Linked DNA regions of Homo sapiens: regions 1, 2 and 4 are each linked to region 3. The links are contacts of gene promoters, found by promoter capture Hi-C in blood cells and fetal thymus (Javierre and others, 2016). All regions are on one chromosome and are shown on one strand. The core of a region is centred on a gene start or on the middle of the fragment in contact, and the rest is flanking DNA. Distances in the headings are between cores, read along the strand shown.

Region 1 (5,170 bases), core at 2,058-4,557, 390 kb before region 3:
CTCGGGCCCAGGAGAAGGGGCATCCGTCACGTGTACCCGGCAGGGCCAGCTTTCGCCGCACCCTGGGGCAGGAATGCAGCCCCGCCCAGCTCCCGCGCCAGCAAAACCGCGCTGGCCCTGGGGACTGACGTCAATGAAGGGGGCGCCTCGGGCGCCGCGCGGGGGCGGAGAGGGCGGTGGGCAGGGCCCGGGCAGACACGCCCCCTCACCGCCGCTCCGCCGCCGATTAGGTTTGAGGAAGCTTCGCACTCCGCTTTCGAGGCCAGCGGAGGCGGGGGGCGGGGATGGACACGCCCCCTCCCTGTCTCCCACCGATGATTGGCGCACGGAACTCCGCCTTGGGTTTGGAAGGCTCGCCTGGGAGCTCATACCTGGCTAGGGCCGAGGATTGGCTGTTCCGGGGCTAGGGAGCGCTTTCTCCCGGGAACCGCGGCTGTGACCCAAGTGGCCCGGACCAGTTTGGGGCTGCGTGCGGCCTGCCTCAAGCAACCAGGTACGTAGGTCGGCGGCCCAGCTCGGCGCTGCGGTGGGAGCCGGAGGGCGACAGTCAGAGCCGGGGTGCCAGCGGGACGCGACCGCCAGATCCACTTAGGACCCCGTCGTTCTGCGAAGCGGCCACGTCTGAGTCCCGGGGCCTCCTCGTGCTGCAGATGTCGCCTTAGGACCTCGGCCAGGATACCCTCTGCCATGCTCTTGTGCTGCCCGTGATCACCGACTGGCCCTTGTAAGCACCTTCGCAGAGCTGCGCCTGCCCTTTCTGAAGGCTGTGGAAGAGGTTGGAGTGGGCGCATCTTAGCTTGCCCCATCCCCATTTGAGGTCTGTCGGAGCTGCCCTTCAGTGTGGTGAGTACCTGCTCCAATTCTCCACCGGGCAGTGGAGTGCAGAGGGTACAGAGGCTAGCTTGGGAGTCCTGACTTTGGATCCCTCCCTGCTCCTTCCACAATCTACAGAAGCAGATAGCCTCCGAAAGGCTTCTGGGACCGACCTTCCCCAGAAGACCTCCTCAGCCATCTGGCAGGAACAAAAATAACAGTGGCTTGAGAGCCCGGGTGCTGGGGTCAGACTGCCTGGGTTCATGTCCCAGCTTCCATCACCTGCCAGCTGTGTGACTTTGGGTGTAGCTTTCTCATCTGTAAAATGGGTATAACAATAGTGCCACCTTAAGTGAGGAGGAAAGAAAGCACCCATCTGAACGTGCTCTGTTCTGCGCTTGACACTGAACAAGCTGCCTCTATGATTTTAATCATAAAGCTATGATTTAAAAGTACACAGATTTGTTGATGGCTGTGATGATGAAAATGACAATGATTCTATAGCCCCTGGTAGTCAAACAGCCTTTCCCTTCATCATTTATTCATTCAACCAGCATGCATAGAATGTCTGTGGTATACCAGGTACTAGAAGGAATGCCGTCACAAACTTAATCTCCCTTTTCCTGTTAAGAGTTATTTATACTCACCATTTATTTTAAAAAGCTTATTTAAAATTTTATAGAGGCAGTCTTGCTATGTTGACCAGGCTGGTCTGGAACTCCTGGGCTCAAGCAATCCTCCCACCTCAGCCTCCCAAAGTGCTGGGATTACAGGCGTGAGCCACCAGGCCTGGCCTTATACTATTTTGATGACGAGCAACTTGTGGCAGGGGAAACTGAGACTTATCCAAGGTCACCCAGTTAGCAGCACAGCCAGAATTCAGGGTTCTAGAAATCTTGAAAGGGTTATCCCTAGATCTAGTAGCAGTTTATTTCCAGGTCATATATGAGAACTGGTCTGGGGAAAGGGCCCAGTTCCTTTCTCCACCTCCAGGGGCATGGATTTGGAGGCCAATGTATATCCAGTTGTCTCGGCATACCTCCCTGAGGCTAGGCCCTGCTGGTGGGGAAGCCCACACAGCGATTTGAACTGGGCTTCCCATTTGAGGAGCCACAGATTTTGGCTGCTGTCCAGTGGCATGTCTGTATAGGATAGCAGGCCAGGGTCCCAAGTGTTGATTCAGGCCTTGGGCCAGAGCCTCCAGTAATTTTTCTAAGAGCCCCTAGGCCCCTGATTACAGAGATTATTGCTATCACCTGGGTTATTGGAAGGGGGCCTCCTCCTGCATGAGGACCTAGGAGTTGCCAGCTCACCCAAATGTGTTCTGCCTCTGGTGGTTACCTGTGCCTCCCTGGGACTGCAGTGAGATACTCTCCTAGAATAGCTGTCTGAACTGAACTTCATATATTGCAAAGAGTGCTCAATTGCGCGCCATATTTATATATTGCAAATTCATTGCATGGTGAGTCACTTTTTAAATATATTTCTTTGTTAGGGTTCCACAGTTCTTCACTTATTGCCTGTTTCAAAACAAGTTGAACTTTGTCATTTTCAATGTTTGGTATTTCCTTTGGGGTTCACTTTCAACCTAGTTTGTGTCAAATTGAAGTATTTTGCAATTGGTCTTTACTCGTTTGTACACAGACCCATACTTACCTTCTTTTATGTCAGTTCTGAAATGAAAGGTCCATTTGTAATCTTTTAATAGCCCCATGGTTTCATTTTCTAGTTTTCAAAAGTACTATTGTGCAAGTATACACTGACTTTTCCTGGACTAAGGTCTTCTCCAGGAAATTGGAGGGAAAATAACTATTGAACACATGGAATGAGACAGGAAAAGTTTCCTTTGATAATAAAAGTGTTCTGATTCGACATTTCATCGGTTTTCCCAAAACTTAACCATCTAATCCTACCTGGAATCAGCCTAGTTTTATTCCCAGCCTCACTCTGCTGTCTGAATCCCAGAATAAGAGACAGAGCCAAGAGTGAGGGGCTTGGCCGGTCATGGTGGCTCACGCCTATAATCCCAACACTCTGGGAGGATGAGGTGGGTGGATCACTTGAGGTCGGGAGTTCAAGACCAGCCTGGCCAACATGGTGAAACCTTGTCTCTACTAAAAATACAAAAATTAGTCGGGCGTGTGGTGGGCACCTGTAATCCCAGCTACTTGGGAGGTTGTTGAGGCAAGAAAATTGCTTGAACCTTGGAGGCAGAGGTTGCAGTGAGCTGAGATTGCGCCACTGCACTCCAGCGTGGGTGACAGAGTGAGACTCCGCCTCAAAAAAAAAAAAAAAAAAGAGTAAAAAGAGTGAGGGGCCTCAAAATCTGGAGGTGCTAGGCCCTCCCTAAGGTTCAAGGAGGGTTGAGGCTGGAGGCTCAGACTCTCCCTGAGGGTTTCTTGGTATGTTTGTGACTCGCAGCTCGCTGAAGCTGTGGAGTCAAAGCCTTGCCATCCTGGGAGAGGTTGTTGGGAAGTCAGGCTCCAAGCCATTTCCTCCCCGAGGCAGCTGCTGCTACATGATCCTTATTGCCCTTCTTTTCCTGGGGAGGTGAGGCCAGATATCACCCTTTCTCCTACTACCCCAGACCTGCCTAGGCGTCTGCCCCGGGCTTGGTCATTGCCAGCTGAGGTCACTAGGGAGCTTTAGAGCTGTGAGTTCTGTTTTCTACCAGATGCTAACCCCAGGGCCCACTGCAGCAAAACAACATAGAGTAGGGAGGAGAAAGGGAGCTACTGGCTGGGGAATTTCCTAGCACCCAGTTAGCCAGACCTGTCCACACATTGCCCCTAGGCTTTGGCAGACAAGTAGCTCCGTTCCTCCTTCTGTACAGACTTACCTGCGGGTGGAATTGTTGACTCTCAGCACTGGTGCAGGCCCTCAGAAACAAACAGCATCAAGCTGTTCTTATAGCAGTAACAGGGAAGCTGACCCACAGAGGGGATGTGAATTGCCTGAGGTTTTTCAGCCAGTGAGTGGCAGAAGTAGGGCTTGAACCGACTCCTCTGACTCGTAAGCCAGGGCTCTGTGCACTGGGCTGGGTTGCAGTTCTTGATTTCTTCTGTGGAAGCTGGGCTCTTCCTCTTTAGAGTGCTACGGCTCAAGGCTGGGCTGTCACCCAGGAAAGAGCCCTGACCCTAGAGAACAGACTAACGAAATTCCACAGCTCCACCCCTGCCTCCACCAGGTGGGATAATTCATTGTCCTTCCCTTTCCATTGGTAGGATTTCCCCTTCATGAATTAGGTGGGAATAGGAAAGCATTCTTCATAGAAATGTGAAGTGTTCTTTAAGCTGCCTGGCTGTGAAGCCAGCTCGGGGGTTTAAAAGCGTGGGCTGACCGGGCGCAGTGGCTCACACCTGTAATCACAACACTTTGGGAGGCCAAGGCGGGTGGATCACCTGAGGTCAGGAGTTCAAGACCAGCCTGACCAACATGGTGAAACCCTGTCTTTACTAAAAATACAAAAAATTAGTCGGGAGTGGTGGGGGACGCCTGTAATCCCAGCTATTCGGGAGGCTGAGGCAGGAGAATCACTTGAACTCAGGAGGTAGAGGTTGCAGTGAGCTGAGATTGCAACACTGCACTCCAACCTGGACAACAAGAGCAAAACTCACTCTCAAAAAAAAAATAAAAATAAAAGCATGGGCTGCAGTCATTTGAACCACCTCTGGCCTCGGCTAAGCCACTGGTACTCATATTTGCATCTTAGCTTCCCTTTACTTCCCTGTGAAATGGGATAACAGTCCCTAACTCCTAGAATTGTTTTGAGGATTAAAGGATATCATACGTATTGCCTGATCCAGAGTAAATATCCCATAGTTAGCTTTTCTTTTTATCAGCCTAAAAGTGTTACTTGGCGACTGTTGTCTTCTTGTCACAGTGTGTTTATGTCATCCAGCTCTGGGGGCTTAATTACCATATAGATTAGGTTTTAACTGGATTTTCATAATAGCACCTAAGGAGAGGCAGATTTTTAAATTTCCATTTTCCAAATAAAATACAATTTTCATGACGTTAACTCATCTGGAAGTCTTCTGCAGCTTTATTGTAGTTGTTAAATCTTTTGAAAACAGGGTGGAGTTTTTATGATAGAAGGCCTGGAAACTGGGACAGAGTGAGCATAGAAATGATTGGGATAATGAGGGTGACTATTGAGGTGAGGAGCGGAGAAGGCCAGGGCAAGGGGGGGAGTCATATTTTGGGAGTATGAGTGGGGCGGAGACAATTCAAACTCTTACAGAGAACAAAAGGCAGGTTAGGGGAAGGGTTACTTCTGCAAGTGGGTTGATAGGAAATTGGAAAAGTTTTTATATATAAGCTTTTGTACTGTTTGCCTCTTATGATGAGCATGTAA
Region 2 (5,326 bases), core at 1,784-4,283, 360 kb before region 3:
ATTTTTTTTAAATATCAATGATCTAAACATCTACCTCAAGAAGTCAGAGGAAGACAAAACTGTCCTGTTACAGGTCTTGAGGCTACAAGAATGACTAGGGATCAAGGATAAGAGTACTCTTCACAGTGCTTTGGAAGAGTTAAGTGTCTTCTGTCTGGAACCAGGAAAGAGTGTAAGATAAAATGCAAATACTAACTCCAGGCCTCACCACTTCTGAAAACTACACATGATGTGTCTGGACAAGGTACTCTGACTCCCAAGCCCTGCAAGCCTCCAGGCCTCCCCATGCCTCAACACAGTCTGGCACAGGGCATGGGACCACCTGCAGCTGCTCACCAGTGTTGCGGATGATGTAATCCAGCACCACCAACCGCTCAAACTGGAGCAGTAGTTGCCGGTTAGTGTTCTCAGGAAGAGGTTCTGCTTCAAAACGCCGCAGCCAATAGTCTGCATCTTTGTAGCCTTCAACAAAGAGCTGGAATGAACCAACCTGGAACCAAGAGGAAGGAACAAAGGTTTTTCCCTACTGCCCAAATCCAAAGACCTTTGGAGTATATGCCAGATACCCATTAAGGCCCTATGGAGTTTGTATCAGAGAAGGAAAACTTTTCAAGATCTTTACTTCCTCATTTCTTGCAAGTACAGGAGAAAAGAGATGTAACAGTGATCATCCATCCAAATTAAAGAACCTATCCAAATGAACCAGAGGAGTAAAGTGAAAAGTTAGGTCTCAACTTTTCAAACCTTAGCCACTTGACAGAAATAAGGAAGACAGGATCCTCAGGGCAGGTTATTCACGTGCCCATATTTGAGTTGTAGGCACCTTGCTTCACCACTTGGATGACTATGTCACTATAAATCATGACCCTTGATAAGCCAGAGGTGCGTCTATACCTTTGGTGGTAGCCCGATGCGGTTAAACCGCTGTCCAACTTTTGGCACTTTCTCTAGTGCAAGCCGCTTGCCCCTGGACTTCACTCGGTCAATGGCACTATAGTTGAAGGTCTCACTGGCCAGGTATACTACCTACAGTGAAAGAGAAGAGATACTAAGGTTAGAGTCAAGTTTAAGGAACCAGAAGACTATGGCAGAGAATAAATAGCTTGATGTTCACAAATCCTATTCCTCTTCCAGGGCACAGAAAGAATACATTTCTCAGCCTTCCCAGCAACTAGGAGAGGGAAGATAACTAGTTTGGGCCAATGAAATAATGACAAAATTATGTATGTACAACACTTCCACTGCTGGCAACTAAAATCTCCCACAATCCTTAATTCACATTCTCCAGTCTGTGCAGCTAGGAAAGAAGGGCTGGGAAATAGCAGAGCCACACCATGGAAGAACCTCGGATACCTTGTAACTACATGAGTGATGTGGTATCTAGGAGAGCTGCCTATCTGGCATGAGTCTGAGATGTAATCAAGAAATACACTCCTGGCCAGGCGTGGTGGCTCACACCTGTAAACCCAGCACTCTGAGAGGCCGAGGTGGGCAGATCACTTGAGGTCAGGAGTTCGAGACCAGCCTGGCCAACATGGTTAAACCCCGTCTCTACTAAAAATACAAAAATTAGCCAGGCATGGTGGTGCACGTCTGTAATCCTAGATACTTCGGAGGCTGAGGTGGGAGGATGGCTTGAACCTTGGAGGCAGAGGTTGCAGTGAGCCAAGATCGCACCACTGCACATTCTATCCTGGGTGACAGAGGGAGACTCTGTCCCAAAAAAAATATGATAAAAAAGAAATACAATCCAATTGTATTAAACCACTTAGATTTAAGGGTTGTTACAGCAGCTAGTATGAAGTACAAGGATTAACACTGTCATCTCCTGGGTTAGATTAGGCCAAATGCCCATCTTCTTTCCAGAGACAAACAAGTTGCAATTTACTCTGTACCCCTTCATTTCCTTTTGAAAAAAAATTTTTTTTTTTTTTTTTTTTTGAGACAGAGTCTCACTCTGTTGCCCAGGCTGGAGTGCAGTGGCACAGTCTCGGCTCACTGCAACCTCCAAGTCCCGCATTCAAGCAATTCTCATGCCTCAGCCTCCCAAGTAGCTGGGATTACAGGTGTGTGCCACCACTCCTGGCTAATTTTTGTATTTTTAGTAGAGAGAGGGTTTCACCATGTTGGCCAGGCTGGTCTTGATCTCCTGACCTCAGGTGATCCTCCTACCTCGGCCTCCCAAAGTGCTGGGATTACAGGCATGAGCCACTGTGCCCGGGCCCTTTTGAATTTTTTTACTTTGTGAAATTATTCGTATTCAAAACACAAACATTAAAATTGGTTTTCATTTTAATTAACTGCTATTTTTATGTATAGGCTATACACTGTAATCCTGGCTGCCTCTGAGGAAGGAAACTGAATGGCCAGGAGATAGGGGTAGCAGGGAGTCTGAATTACTTTTCTCTGTTTACCCTATGTGCCTTCTGATTTTTATACTAGATGCATGCATTACTTATTCTAAAAAAAATTTTTATGAGCCATCAATATTATACTTAAGTCAAATTGCAGTGACGTAATTGTAATCCACATATGCATCTATTGTCACACTTATCACATTGTCTTGTAATTATCCATTTGTATATCTAACTCCTCCTTTAAAATGAATGAGATTTGAGGAAGCGGAGAACATCTTATTTATATTAGCATCCACAGCACCTAACACAGTAGCTGGCATATGCTCATTAAATATTTATTAAGTGAATGAAGAATGAGTTACAAGCTTCTTTCAGAGACAGCAACAAGTGAGTTTTAGCATATAAATACCTAAAATCAAACTTATAAGAAAGGTATTTTCCTAAGCCTTGTAAAATTTATTACAAATAACTATTTTTTTTCCCATGAACCTGAGAGGCAAAATAACTGCCTCTCATCTATCGCTCCATGCTACCATCTAGTATTAATAGACTACCTAAAATGGATGTGCATGGTACTGTAGTAGGCACTCCCTGCCTTACAAATCAGAAAACTCAGGCATAGGAATGAAGGAAAAAGAGCTTTCCTAAGGCTACCTTGCCAGTGTCCACAGTGAAACTCCTGGCTCTCTCAAGCCATAAATCCCCTTTTGCCCCCATCATATTTATTTTCTATCATTCTTCCTAACAAACCACTTTTTCCCCATGACTAATGAAACTATCATAACCTGAAACCTCATAGGAGCAGAGAGCAGAGACAGCCAGTGAGTGAGAATTAGAGCCTTACCATTTGAAGTTCCAATGCAATGTGAACCTTGTTTCTATAATGACAGATGCTCTGATCAACTGGATAGAGTCCTGTCACAAGAGTTGGGGAGACAGGGAGAGGAGTCCTCTTACTATTCTCCAGCAGCTATATGTTAAGCTTCCAAAGTTCTGTCTCATCTCAGTCTCATGGAAGACAAGTATTTTTTTTTTTTGAGACGGAGTCTCGCTCTGTTGCCCAGGATAGAGTGTGGTGGCACAATCTCAGCTCACTGCAACCTCTGCCTTCCAGGTTCAAGCGATTCTCCTGCCTCAGCCTCCCAAGTAGCTGGGATTACAGGCACGCACCACCATGCTCAGCTAAGTTTTGTATTTTTAGTAGAGACAGGGTTTCACCCTGTTGGCCAGGCTGGTCTCGAACTCCTGACCTGAGGTGATCCACCCACTTAGGCCTCCCAAAGTGCTGGGATTACAGGCGTGAGCCAATGAGCCCAGCCAAGACAAGTATTTTTGTTGTTGCTGACTTTCTGATGCAAAAGATCCTCAGGCCTCGTGAAGGTTCTCTAACAGGGAAAGAGGAAGACCAAAGATAGGGACGAAAGGGATTGTGGGGGTGACACTAACGATTAGAATAGCTGATAAAAATATCACAGGCTAACATATGGAGGGTTTACGTTGTGCCTGGCACTCACTCAGCTATGTGCTTCATATAGGCTGTCTTGTGTAATATTGATGGCCACTCTACAAAGTAGGAACTATTTATATCCCTATTTTTACAGTAAGGAAACTGAGCCTAGGGAGGTTACATGACTTGCCCAAGTGTTACACAAATCAAAAACTGCAGAGCAAGAATTCAAACTCAAGTCCTCTGATTCTTGGGCACCACACTCCAGAAGCACCAACAGAGCAGGTAGGCATAGAGCCAGACACGGTCTGCTATTTGCCTAGTAAAGGAAGAAAACTATAGAGTGATAAGCAAGGAGAATGTAAAAGTTTCTAGAGTCTAAGAGGAGCCTAGTAGAAGCATTTCAGGTTAGGAGACTTAAGAACATTAATTATCATACAAGATGTTCAAAGCATGCTGTAAAACTATCTGCACAGAGAGGGAAAAGTAAGGCATAAAGAGAAGGAATGAGCTGTACAAAGCCAGGCAGTGAATTAGATGTGAAATGGGAACTAGAAGCCTGGTCAAACATTTTCTCGCTAGACCTAAAGTTGGAAGAACTTTGGTATTGTTTCTCATGATTTCATATTCATTTACTGACTCAGCTGGTACTTCATGAATGCTTACTATAAATATAGTATTTTGCTAGGTGCTGAGAATGAGAGAGGAAATCTTGAGAAGTGGTCTCTGACTTCTATAACTTACAAACTAGTTGGCTAATTGTTTGGAGTTTAGTAGCAAAGGAGCAGACATGGTTAAATATCCACAATAGTCACATTTTCCTCTCAAACGGAAGGGAAGTTTCTACTGCTGATCAATCTCTTTGCTCATAGAATCTGCTATCTAAACCTGAGAAGACATCTTTAAGGCTGGGTGTGGTGGCTCACACTTGTAATCCCAGCACTTTGGGAGGCCAAGGCAGGAGGATAGCTTGAGCCCAGGAGTTCAAGACCAGCCTGGGCAAAACAGGGAGACCTTGTCTCTACAAAAAATTAAAAAAAAAAAAAATTAGCCAGGCATGGTGGCACATGCCCGTAGTCCCAACCTGAGAGGCTGAGGTGGGAGGACTGCTTGAGCCTGGGAGGTCAAGGCTGCAGTGAGTTGTGATCATGCCACTGCACCCCAGCCTGGGCAACAGAGCAAGACCCTGTCTCTAAAAATAAGAAAGAAAAGAAAACTTTAAGCAGAGGGATTTTAATCTAGAGACATGCTCCCTGGGGTGTCAACAGATAGACTGCAACGTTTATGAACCATTGCCCTAAAATTATACACAAAACAATAATTGCAAATATATGTACTTTTTCTGGAAAGGGGGTCTATAGGTTTCATCAGATTCTCAAAGAGTTATTTACTAAATAACTAAATAAATTTAGTTTTAGTTATTTAGTAAATAACTAAATAAACTAGCATAGACTAGTTAAGACTAAGCACGGAGCCAGGATTGTTTAGATGACTCAGCAGCCTCAGGGCATCAGATGAGAGT
Region 3 (5,094 bases), core at 2,120-4,619:
CCTCCTAGTTGCAGTGGTAATACTTTAAAGTTTTGAACAGTTTTTCTTTTGTGAAAGCATCAATTTCATTCAATCCATCAGTCCATGTGCTGGGTGTCATGGGGCTAGAAACAAAACTAGTTCTTATTTTGAGGGAAGGGCAGAATTTGAGCCTTGGGTTCCTTGCTTTGTATATATAGCAATTAACACAACCTGGATTTTCTTTTCTTTCTTTCTTTTTTTTTTTTTTTGAGACATAGCCTCAACCTATTGCCCAGGCTGGAGTGTAGTTGCACGATCTCGGCTCGCTGCAACCTCCATCTCCTGGGTTCAAGTGATTCTCCTCCATCAGCCTCCCGAGTAGCTGGGATTATAGGTGTGTGGCAACACGCCCGGCTAATTTTTGTATTTTTAGTAGAGACAGGGTTTCACCATGTTGCCAGGCTAGTCTGGAACTCCTGACCTCGGGTGATCCACCCGCCTCAGCCTCCCAAAGTGCTGAGATTACAGGTGCGAGCCACCTCGCCTGGCCTTTTTTTCTCTTTTCTTTTCTTTTTGAGACAGTCTCACTCTGTTGCCGAGGCTGGAGTGCAGTGGCACATGATCTTGGCTCACTGTAACCTCCACTTCCTGGTTTCAAGCGATTCTCCTGCCTCAGCCTCCTGAGTAGCTGGGATTACAGGTGTGTGCCACCATGCCCGGCTATTTTTTTGTATTTTTAGTAGAGATGGGATTTCACCATTTTGGTCAGGCTGGTCTTGAACTCCTGACCTCAAGTGATCTACCTGCCTCGACCTCCCAAAGTGCTGGGATTACAGGCGTGAGCCATCACACTTGGCTTCTTTTTCTTTTTTTGTTTTTTGTTTTTTGTTTTTTTGAGACAGGGTCTTGCTCTGTCAGGGTGGAGTGCAGTGGCATGAACATGGCTTGCTGTAGTCTCAATCTCCTGGGCTCAAGTGATCCCAGCCTGGATTTTCTAAGGCTGTCTGAGGTTCAATGAAAAATTTCACTGATACGTTTGCTAAATTTTATGTTTCTTTCCATGTATTTGCTCAATAAACATGATTTGTTAAACATCAAACTAAATAAGACTGGGCATGGTGGCTCACACCTGTAGTCCCAGCACTTTGGGAAGCCTAGGTGGGTAGATCACTTGAGTTCAGGAGTTCGAGACCAGTCTGGCCAACGTGGCAAAACCCATCTCTACTCAAATACAAAAATTAGCCAGATGTGGTGGCACACACCTGTAATCCCAGCTACTTGAGTGTCTGAGGCTGGAGAATTGCTTGAACTCGGGAGGCAGAGGTTGCAGTGAGTGGAGACCATGCCACTACACTCCATCCTAGGCAACAGAGTGAGACTCTGTTTCAAACAAAAAACATAAAAAACATCAAACTAAATGCAATTTTATTTGGACACATTTATCAAACTTTTATTTTCTTTTTTAGAGAAAGGGTCTCATTCTGTCGCACAGCCTGGAGTTCAGTGGCACAATCATAGCTCACTTTAACCTTGAACTCCTGGGCCCAGGTGATCCTCCTGCCTCAGCCTCCAAAAGTGATGGGATTATGGGTGTAGGCCACTGTGCCTAGCCCTTATCAAACTTTTAGTATTAATTCATCAATTGAAAAAAATCTATTAGAGTATATGATTTGATTTTTTATTTGGATATAATAGTTTGAGGACTTGCTTATATTTTTCAAAAATATTTATTGGACAGCCATTATGTGCCAGAAACTGTGGGGAGCAAAATAAATATAGTCTCTGCCCACTTGTGGCAGGAAGCCTAGCTGGGAACCCTCACATGAAATAAATAGTCACACAAATGACTATGTAATTGTGAGTTGTGATATGAACTGTGAAAGAATAGTACAGAGTTCTTTGTGAAAGTTTACTGAGGGAATTGATTTATACAATGGGGGTCATGGAAGATCTTTGAGCCAGTGACATTTAAGCTTCGACCTGAAAGCCAAAAAAGTGGAAAAATGGACGAGCCAGAAAAAGCAACATGTGCAAAAGCCCTAAGACAGTTCAGAAAGTGAAGCATGTGCAGTACAGTTTAGTAAAAAGGAGGCAGAGTGCAGGGAGAGCCCCAGGTGGCAGGATATCAGAAGGATCAATACAGAAATTCCCGAGAAAAGTCCAGCATAGGAAAACAATATGGAAAAACAAAAAACAACAATGCTCAAAATTTACAATGTTCTCACATATGTTGCCTCAGTTAATCCCTAGGAGAAGTGTGTGCCGCAGGGAGGACAAGGATAATTATGGTTATTCCTACCATTGAGGATTAAAGTTTAGTTTGGGACAAAGTCATGCAGCTTTTGGTTCCATGGTTCATATCACAAGGCAAACTCTGTGGGTTCTCTGGGAAGTTGGAAGGGAGTGAATGTATTGAAGCAGAAATGACCGACTCCAGCCTGGCCAACAGGGTGAAACCCCATCTCTACAAAAAGTACAAAAATTTGCCCTGTGTGTTGGTATGCTGCAATATTGTACTGTGCTCCAGCATGGGAGACAGAGGGAGACCTTATCTCAAAAAAAAAAAAAAAAGAAAGAAATAAAGGAAGAAAGAAATGACCTATGGCTAGGGCTATGCTGAGTATCTGAAGAAAGAAGGCTTTGAACTATACGTTTAAAAGCAAGTACTTCTAGGTTGCCACTCCCTGCCTGCACTTGAGGGATTTATCTCTGGGTCAAGACAGAGAACGAGTCTTGCATTAAATTACATTAAATTAAATGAATTAATTTATGGCTGGGTGCAGTGCCTCATGCCTGTAATCCCAGCACTTTGGGAGGCTGACATAGGAGGATTGCTTGAGCTCAGGGGTTCGAGACCAGCCTGGGCAACATGGTGAAACCCTGTCTCAACAGAAAAAAAAAATTAAAAAAATTGTAAAAAAAAATTATTTATTTTCAACTTTTATTTTAAATTTAGGGGGTACATGAGTTGGTTTGTTATCTGGGTATATTGTGTGATGCTGAGATATAGGGTACGGAGTCTTGCATTTTAGAAAGTGATGAGTCACTTTCAAAGTTGACAGTTCTATAATTCCCTGATTTACATATCAGGACAAAATTTGAGCATAGGCTGGTGATTTCTGACTTGAACCTAAAGGTCTGTGGAATCGGAAGGGTTCATCAAAATGAGAAACTACAACTCCCGGCAGGCCTCGGGGCTGGGTCTTCTTCCCCGCCCCTCCCTCTTTTTCCGCCAGGGCTGGGAACGACCAATGACGGTTAGTCATTTGAATAGACCAATAATATATTAAACGGTTCAGGTTGAGGAGGGGCGGTCGAGTCATCCAATCGCACGGAAGAGGTGAAAACATATTAGCCAATCCAAATATGTGGGGGCGGGACGTAAGGTGGGGCGGTGAAAGAAGTTTGCTGACGAAGATGGCGACTGAGGCACAGAGTGAAGGGGAGGTGCCAGCCCGCGAATCCGGCCGGAGGTGAGCTGAGTTTGGTCCAGTTTCCTGGGAAACGCGGCCTTGGGCTGGTAGTCCTGCCGCCTTTGCCTTGGGTCACGGAGGCGCACGGTTCGGGCTTTGTTTCTTTCTCCCACGGCGTTTCTCATCGTCGCGCCTGCGGGGGCTGAGGCGCGGGGGTCGGGCCTGGGCGCTGGACTCCAGCCAAACCCCCCGCTCGGTCCTGCCGGTGCCCGAGGGGGCTCCTCCCGCTGCGCTGGCTGCAGACGTCCAGCTGGGGGTGGCAGCGCTGATCGCTTTGGCGCCGAGACACCTCTTGATGGCGAGGAAACGGAAGTCCAGGGCTGGTTAGCGAATTCCTCACTGTTGCACACAGCGCTTCACATCTTCTCCGAGGCACTTTGTGCGTTCAGGTCCGAGCAAGGATTTGAGTGTCAATTAGAAACAGTGTTGAGTCCTTGGGCCAGTTTTTAAACCTCTCTCGACTTCAGTTTCTTCATCTGCAAAGGGACGTGAGGATGCCTATTTCCAAGTGTCAAGATTGAATAAGACAATCCATTTAAAGCTAGCACTGAGTTTAGCCGATAATGACAACTCTACGCAATAGATTTTCTTCTTCCTAGTAGAACAGCTAAGGAGCAGATGGGAGAGGGATCTGTAGTCCAGGACATCATGACTTTATTTCCACAGGATGTTCTTTCCTAAACAGCCACACCGAGATTTAGCGTTTTCAGGAGAGAATTTCGAGGTGGTGTTGCCTTAGCCTTGAGACCTAAGTTGTCTTAATTGATTACAATTTTGTTTTTGGTGTAATTCAATAGATTGAGTTTATTTACGTTGCCTCAGTGTAACTCAGTAAAATACTTCGGTTTGGCGTCTTTTGGTTCCATTTGTACCGAATAAGAGATTCCAAGAATCTTGGGAAACTAATAACTTTGTGACTCGGCTTCTTCCTGAGCCCAGATGAGCGTGGTTGAGTGTGTTATTTAAAATATCATACGGGGCCGGGCATGGTGGCTTACGCCTGTAATCCCAGCACTTTGGGAAGCCGAGGGGAGCGGATCACCTGAGATCAGGAGTTCGAGACCAGCCTGGCGAACATGATGAAAGCCCGTCTCTACTAAAAATACAATAATTAGCCGGGTGTGGTGGCGGGCGCCTGTAGTCCCAGCTACTCAGGAGGTTGAGGCGGAGGTTGCAGTGAGCCCAGATGCGCCATTGCATTCCACCCTGGGTGACAGAGCAAGACTATGTCTCAAATAAATAAATAAAATAAAATATGATATGGAAGAGTTTTCCACTCTTTTTTGTTTTGTTTTGTTTTTGTTTTGCAGTTGCAAGATTTCATAGAGTGAAATAGAGTGAAAACACAGCTCCCACACAAAGGGAGGGGACCCAAAGTGGGTGGCCGTTGCTGGCTCTAATGCCTGGGTTTATATCCTGATCCTTGTCCCTCCCGCTGTGCTCTCAGGCAAGAGATGATTGGCTATTTCTTTACCTCCTGTTTTTGCCTAATTAGCATTTTAGTGAGCTCTCTGATTGGTTGGGTGTGAGCTAAGTTGCAAGCCCCGTGTTTAAAGGTGGATGCGGTCACATTCCCAGCTAGGCTCAGGGATTCTTAGTTGGCCTAGGAAATCCAGCTAGTCCTGTCTCTCAGTCCCCCTTCTCAACAGGAAAACCCAAG
Region 4 (5,421 bases), core at 1,566-4,065, 340 kb before region 3:
AGCATATGAAGCATGACTCTCTAATAGGAAAAATAAAAATAAAGCACTTAGCATAGTGTTTTGTACATAAAGAGCACTCAACATATGGTAGCTTTTTGAAAAAAAATCACTGCTGATGTTACTGTTGATGTTGTTTTTGTTTTTATGCTTAAAGTCACCAGCAGACTAGAGGTATGGGCTTTCACGAATCATGGCCAGTCACATAGTCACCAATATTTCATAATCATTCTTTCTTGAATCAAATTATTGCCACTGCTAACTAGAAATACCAAATTGAAAGCACTATTGTTTAATTATATGTATGGGAATGTCTTAAACATTTTTGGCCAGACAAACCATTCTAAACAAAAGTCGTACAGAAGGTTAAATTGCCCCTTTCAGTTATAATACATGCACTTCCTTTTCCTATCTAGACCTCAATAATCAACTGATGCCTGGCTCTTGTGGCCCAGGGTCTGTAGCCACATAGATAATCTTTTGGTATCATTCATCTCATTTAGCCCATAAGCTTCAAATTATGGTAAAGGAAAGGTCCCAGATTTAGAGTTCTCCCTGGAATTCTGAGTTTTTTCTCCACAGAAACCCCTCAGAGTCTTTTATTTTATCTAAAAAAATTTTTTGGCCAGGCACAGTGGCTCACGCCTGTAATCCCAGCACTTTGGGAGGCCGAAGCGGGTGGATCACGAGGTCAGGAGTTCGAGACCAGCCTGGTCAAGATGGTGAAACCCTGTCTCTACTAAAAATACAAAAATTAGCCGGCTCTGTCACTCAGGCTGGAGTGCAGTTGTGCAATCTCAGCTCACCGCAACCTCCGCCTCCCGGGTTCAAGCGATTCTCCTGCCTCAGCCTCCTGAGTAGCTGGGACTACAGGCGCGGGCCACCACATCCGGCTAATTTTTGTATTTTTCAGTAGAGACGGGGTTTCACCATGTTGGCCAGGATGGTCTCGATCTGTTGACCTCATGATCCGCCCACCTCGGCCTCCCAAAGTGCTGGGATTACAGGCATGAGCCACCACACCCGGCCTAGACATTGTTTTAAATGCATTACATGGATTAACTCATGGAACCAGCTTTATAGTATCCTGTGATGTTGGAAACCCAGACCCAGGGAGGTAAAGGTAATGTGCCCATGGTCATTCAGCTGGTAAATGGCAGAGCCGGATCCAAATCCAGGCAGACTGTTTCCATGCTCTTAACACTATGTTGATTCTTATTAAATATCCCTATGAAATATGTCTCATATTTACCCCCTTTCTTTCATCTCCACTGATGCTACATGAAACTTCCAGGATGTGTTAGTTGCATTATTACAATAACTTCTGAGTTTGTTACTTTGCTTCCAATCTCTCACTGGTCATCTCTGAGTGTCACTGTCAGATTAATTTTCATAAAATACTGCTTGTAGTGTGTCATTCCCCTGGCCAAGAAACTACATTTTATTTATTTATTTATTTATTTATTTATTTATTTATTTATTTATTTATGTTTTGAGACAGGGTCTCTGTTAACCAGGCTCAAGCAGTTCTCTTGCCTTAACCTCCCGAGTGCTGGCACCACAGGCACTTGTCACCACACTCAGCTAATTATAAAGGCCATAAGAGTAACAATCATGGCTTTTCAAGCCTGACAGAACCTAGCATCATGCTGTACTCACATTGTTTAAGAAATAAACATATGGATACACAGATTGATGTGAGTGGTATTTGGGAAGATTTGCTCCAATCTTGGCACTATATTTTATTTATTTATTTATTTATCTAGTGAACCAGAAATAAAATTATAAGCCCCCCAATCAAATGAATGGCCTCCTCTTCTGGGCCAAGGGCATTCCTAAATTAACCTGAAAAACTATTTGAGGCCATGATGAGAAGTGGGAGTCAGACATGCCTCATTATTTTCTCCTGCTTTTGGAATTCAGGACCAGCATTTAACATTAAAGCAGAGATCTTAAGGTTGACACAGCAGACTCTTTGTAGCAATGATACCAACATTGACAGATAGCAGGCCCCATCTGTCATGATAGCAGGCAAAGGTGTCTTTTATGGTGAAAATCTACATTCTGTAGAAAATCCCCTTCCCTTTCCAGGTCTTTTTCCTGATCCAGGGGAGAACTAACTAAGAGTCTGATACCTTTCTAAATCTGATAATAAACACTGGCCAGCCTTGGTGGCTCACACGTGTAATCCTAGCACTTTGGGAGGCAGAGATGGGAGGATCACTTGAGCCCAGGAGTTCAATACCAGCCTGGGCAACATGACAAAACACCATCTCTACAAAAAATACAAAAATAAGCCAGGCATAGTGGAATGAACCAGTAGTCTCAGCTACTTAGGAGGCTGAGGTGGGAGGATAACTTGAGCCTGGGAGGTCAAGGCTGCAGTAAGCCGTGATCCAGCTACTGCACTCCAGACTGGGTGACAGAGGGAGACCCTGTCTCAAAACAAAAAAAAAAATAAAGAAACATTTACAATCTATGCTCTCTGGAGCCTGCTACCTGTAGCCTTCTCTGCATAATAAAAACCTTGATTTCCACAATTCCTTGTGTGTGTGTGTGTGTGTGTGTGTGTGTGTGTGTGCGTGCATATCTTAGTAACAATTCCTTAACTTAACCCAGACATTCCCTTCTGTGGGTTCCAGGTCTTTAAACTCTTTCAACCAATTGTCAATCAGGACATCTTTGAATCCACCTACATCCTGGAACTTGCCACCCCCACCCCCACTTTCGGGACCAAGCCAATGTATATTTTACATGTATTGATTGATGTCTTACGTCTCCCTAAAATGTATAAAATCAAGTGGTGTCCCGACTATTTTGGACACACATTCTTAGGACCTTCTAAGGCTGTGTCACGGGCATGTCCTTAACATTGGCAAAATAAACTCCTAAATTGATTGAGACCTGTCTCAGATACTTTTTGGTTTGCAATTTATTTATTTGAGACAGGGTCTTGCTAGGTCGCCCAGGCTGGGGTACAGTGGCAGAATCATGGCTTATTGCAGCCTCAACCTCCTGGGCTCAAGGGATCCTCCCACCTCAGCCTCCTGAGTAGCTGTGACTACAGGCACCCACCACTAGGCTGGGTAATTTTTTTCTTCTGTAGATACGGAGTCTCCCTGCGTTGCCCAGGCTGATCTAGAACTCTTGGGCTCAAGCCTCCCGCACTCCTGAGCTCAAGCCGCGGCCTCCCGAAGTGCTGGGATTACAGATGTGAGCCACTGCGCCTGGCCAGGTACTATATTTTAAACAAAAAGGATCTAGATAATGACAAGGACAGCACAAATTCCTATAATGAATGCAAAAGTGTCTTGATATCACAATGTCTAGCACAGAGTTATTGGAGGCTATCCTGCCTAGCGCGTTACAATTTACAAAGCTGCCTCTCTGAAGCTGGATTTAGGATCTGCCTTAAACTCCGCGGCGGGGCCCTTGACAGCAGTGGGGACTGGAGCAAGATCAGAGCCGCTCGCGTTGATGGTCACTGTTGCTTCGGGCGCAGGTTTGGTTTTCTTTGGGGTTGCCATTTCAACTAGACGGCCTCTGGGTAGGCCAGATCTGGATCCTCTGTCTTTATCTGCGTTGCAGAGGTGGGACCACCCCTCTTTCACATAGTCAGCCCGGGTTCGCAAACACTCGGCCCCGCACAAAGATGGCGTGGAGCCGGGCTGGGCCAATGCGGAGTGGCGTTGCTCCCGGTTGCCTAGGTAACAGCCAATGGGCAGCGGGAATTGTACCCAGTGCGGTCGCCCAGGATGGCGGCGTCAAGTGGGGCAATCGCTGGTGGAGGTGGCGGAGAGCAAGGTGGCAGCCGGGAGCCCATCAGAGGAAAAGTCCGAGGCGCTGGAACCCTGCGTCCAGGCGTGACGGTCATCCCGAAAGGCCGGCCCCAGGTTGGCTGGAGGCGCAGGAGGGAGGGGGCCGGGAAAGAGTGTGATCGGTCAGGTGGGCACTGAGGAACGGAGCACGAGATGACCCGGCTCGGGGGCGCGGCTCCACCTCGGATACGCTGACCTGAGGGCGGTTGCCTGTGGGGGACCCAAACCTGAACCCTTTAGTCTCCACCGCGGGGGTCGAGGCCCGGGAGAGCTGACTGGACTGGGGTTAGCGAGCAGAGGGTGGAGGGTTGCATCAGGGGAATTGGCAGACCTGTGTGAGCGTTAGACCCTGCCGGGCGGGAGAGCGGGCCCGGATAGCAGGAAGGAACGCGCCTGGAAGGTGAAAATGGGGTGCGAGAAGGTGTTGCCTTGTTGTGGTCTAGGGCTTTGTTTTCCCTGAGCCCGCCTTTATCTCACTGGTGGAGAGAACTCCCACATATGGAAGCCTGGGGAATGGGATGCTTCATTTAGTTGATGGGTGGTATCCCTGCATTCTAGCATCTCTGAACTGCTTAGGTACCAGCAGGAATAACTGCTATATCGGAGTCCAGCCCTGGCATTCCCTTTCCCGTGAAATAGGATAGTATTCTGGCAGTATTACTCCCTAGTCCCAATCACCCCCAGGTCATCATCGCCTTTAAATAAAAAAAAAAAAAAATCTTTTTGGCGCCAGTATTTTCTTCCCACTTTCTTCAATCTAACCATCCCACAGTCTTCCCTAAACGAACCCTTCATATAGCAACGATACATTTCTTTACTTTTCACATGAGGAAAGAGGAGGTTAGACTTATAATGAAAAACAGTTATTTCGAGCTCCTTTTAAAACACTTAAAAAAAAATATTTAGGCCGGGCGCGGTGGCTCACGCCTGTAATCCCAACACTTTGGGAGGCCGAGGCGGGTGGATCACGAAGTCAGGAGTTCAAAACTAGCTTGGCCAAGATGGTGAAACCTCGTCTCTACTAAAAATACAAAAATTAGCCAAGCATGGTGGCACGTGCCTGTAATCCCAACTACCCAGGAGGCTGAGGCAGGAGAATTGCTTGAACCTGGGAGGCGGCGGTTGCAGTGAGCCAAGATCCTGCCACTGCACTCCAGCATGGGGGACAGAGCAAGACTCCGTCTCAAAAAAAAAAAAAAAAAAAAAAAAGGGGAGTATTATTTGACTTTTTGTTCTAGGTTCCTAACAAGGCTAATCTTTGTTCATCAAAGCCTTCATTTTCTTCTCTTTAGGATTCTAAAAGCTTATGAACTGCTTTCTTTATTACTGAAATAATTTGACAAGACTATTGTACCCTGGGAAGGGTGGTTCTGGGGGGACATGTGGGTAGTTAGGGTGGCTGCCTCCACCCAGTATTCTCTAACTGGATCTCCCCCACCGCCCCAACCTTTTGTTTTGTTTTGCTTTTCTTTTCTTTTTTTTGAGACAAGGTCTGGCTCTGTTGCCCAGGCTGGAGTACAGGTGTGGTGCAGTCACTGCTCACCCCGGCAGCCTCAAATTGTGGGCTCAAGCAATCCTCCTACCTCAGCCTCCTGAGTAGCTGGGA

The links. Contacts are between HindIII fragments. The CHiCAGO score rates a contact against its expected background, and 5 or more counts as called.
Region 1: a contact is called between a fragment that was not itself captured here and the fragment with the promoter of ARHGAP19 in region 3, in 1 of 17 cell types (neutrophils). The highest score is 7.3, in neutrophils.
Region 2: a fragment that was not itself captured here is called in contact with the fragment with the promoter of ARHGAP19 in region 3 in 2 of 17 cell types (neutrophils and monocytes); the score reaches 9.4 in neutrophils.
Region 4: a contact is called between a fragment that was not itself captured here and the fragment with the promoter of ARHGAP19 in region 3, in 1 of 17 cell types (neutrophils). The highest score is 6.9, in neutrophils.

The regions. Positions count from the first base shown.
Region 1 is chr10:97,682,439-97,687,608 of GRCh38, reverse strand. It overlaps AVPI1 (arginine vasopressin induced 1), which reads left to right and starts at 368. Exons shown (of 3, transcript NM_021732.3): 1 at 368-843. RefSeq lists enhancers at 1-277, 1-544, 278-1,231 and a silencer at 2-381. The HindIII fragment of the contact is 3,658 bases long and covers 1,479-5,136 here.
Region 2 is chr10:97,651,985-97,657,310 of GRCh38, reverse strand. It overlaps PI4K2A (phosphatidylinositol 4-kinase type 2 alpha), which reads right to left. Exons shown (of 9, transcript NM_018425.4): 3 at 895-1,026; 4 at 337-490. Among named protein-coding and RNA genes, the nearest start is that of PI4K2A, 14 kb to the right of the region's middle. RefSeq lists an enhancer at 4,766-5,326. The HindIII fragment of the contact is 617 bases long and covers 2,725-3,341 here.
Region 3 is chr10:97,290,912-97,296,005 of GRCh38, reverse strand. ARHGAP19 (Rho GTPase activating protein 19) reads left to right here and starts at 3,369. Exons shown (of 12, transcript NM_032900.6): 1 at 3,369-3,434. The coding sequence starts at 3,379. ARHGAP19-SLIT1 (ARHGAP19-SLIT1 readthrough (NMD candidate)) reads left to right here and starts at 3,333. Exons shown (of 15, transcript NR_037909.1): 1 at 3,333-3,434. RefSeq lists a silencer at 3,648-3,697 and enhancers at 3,042-3,798, 3,799-4,557. The HindIII fragment of the contact is 8,887 bases long and covers 1,937-5,094 here.
Region 4 is chr10:97,631,816-97,637,236 of GRCh38, reverse strand. It overlaps MORN4 (MORN repeat containing 4), which reads left to right and starts at 3,737. Exons shown (of 5, transcript NM_178832.4): 1 at 3,737-3,890. RefSeq lists an enhancer at 3,384-3,473. The HindIII fragment of the contact is 4,610 bases long and covers 511-5,120 here.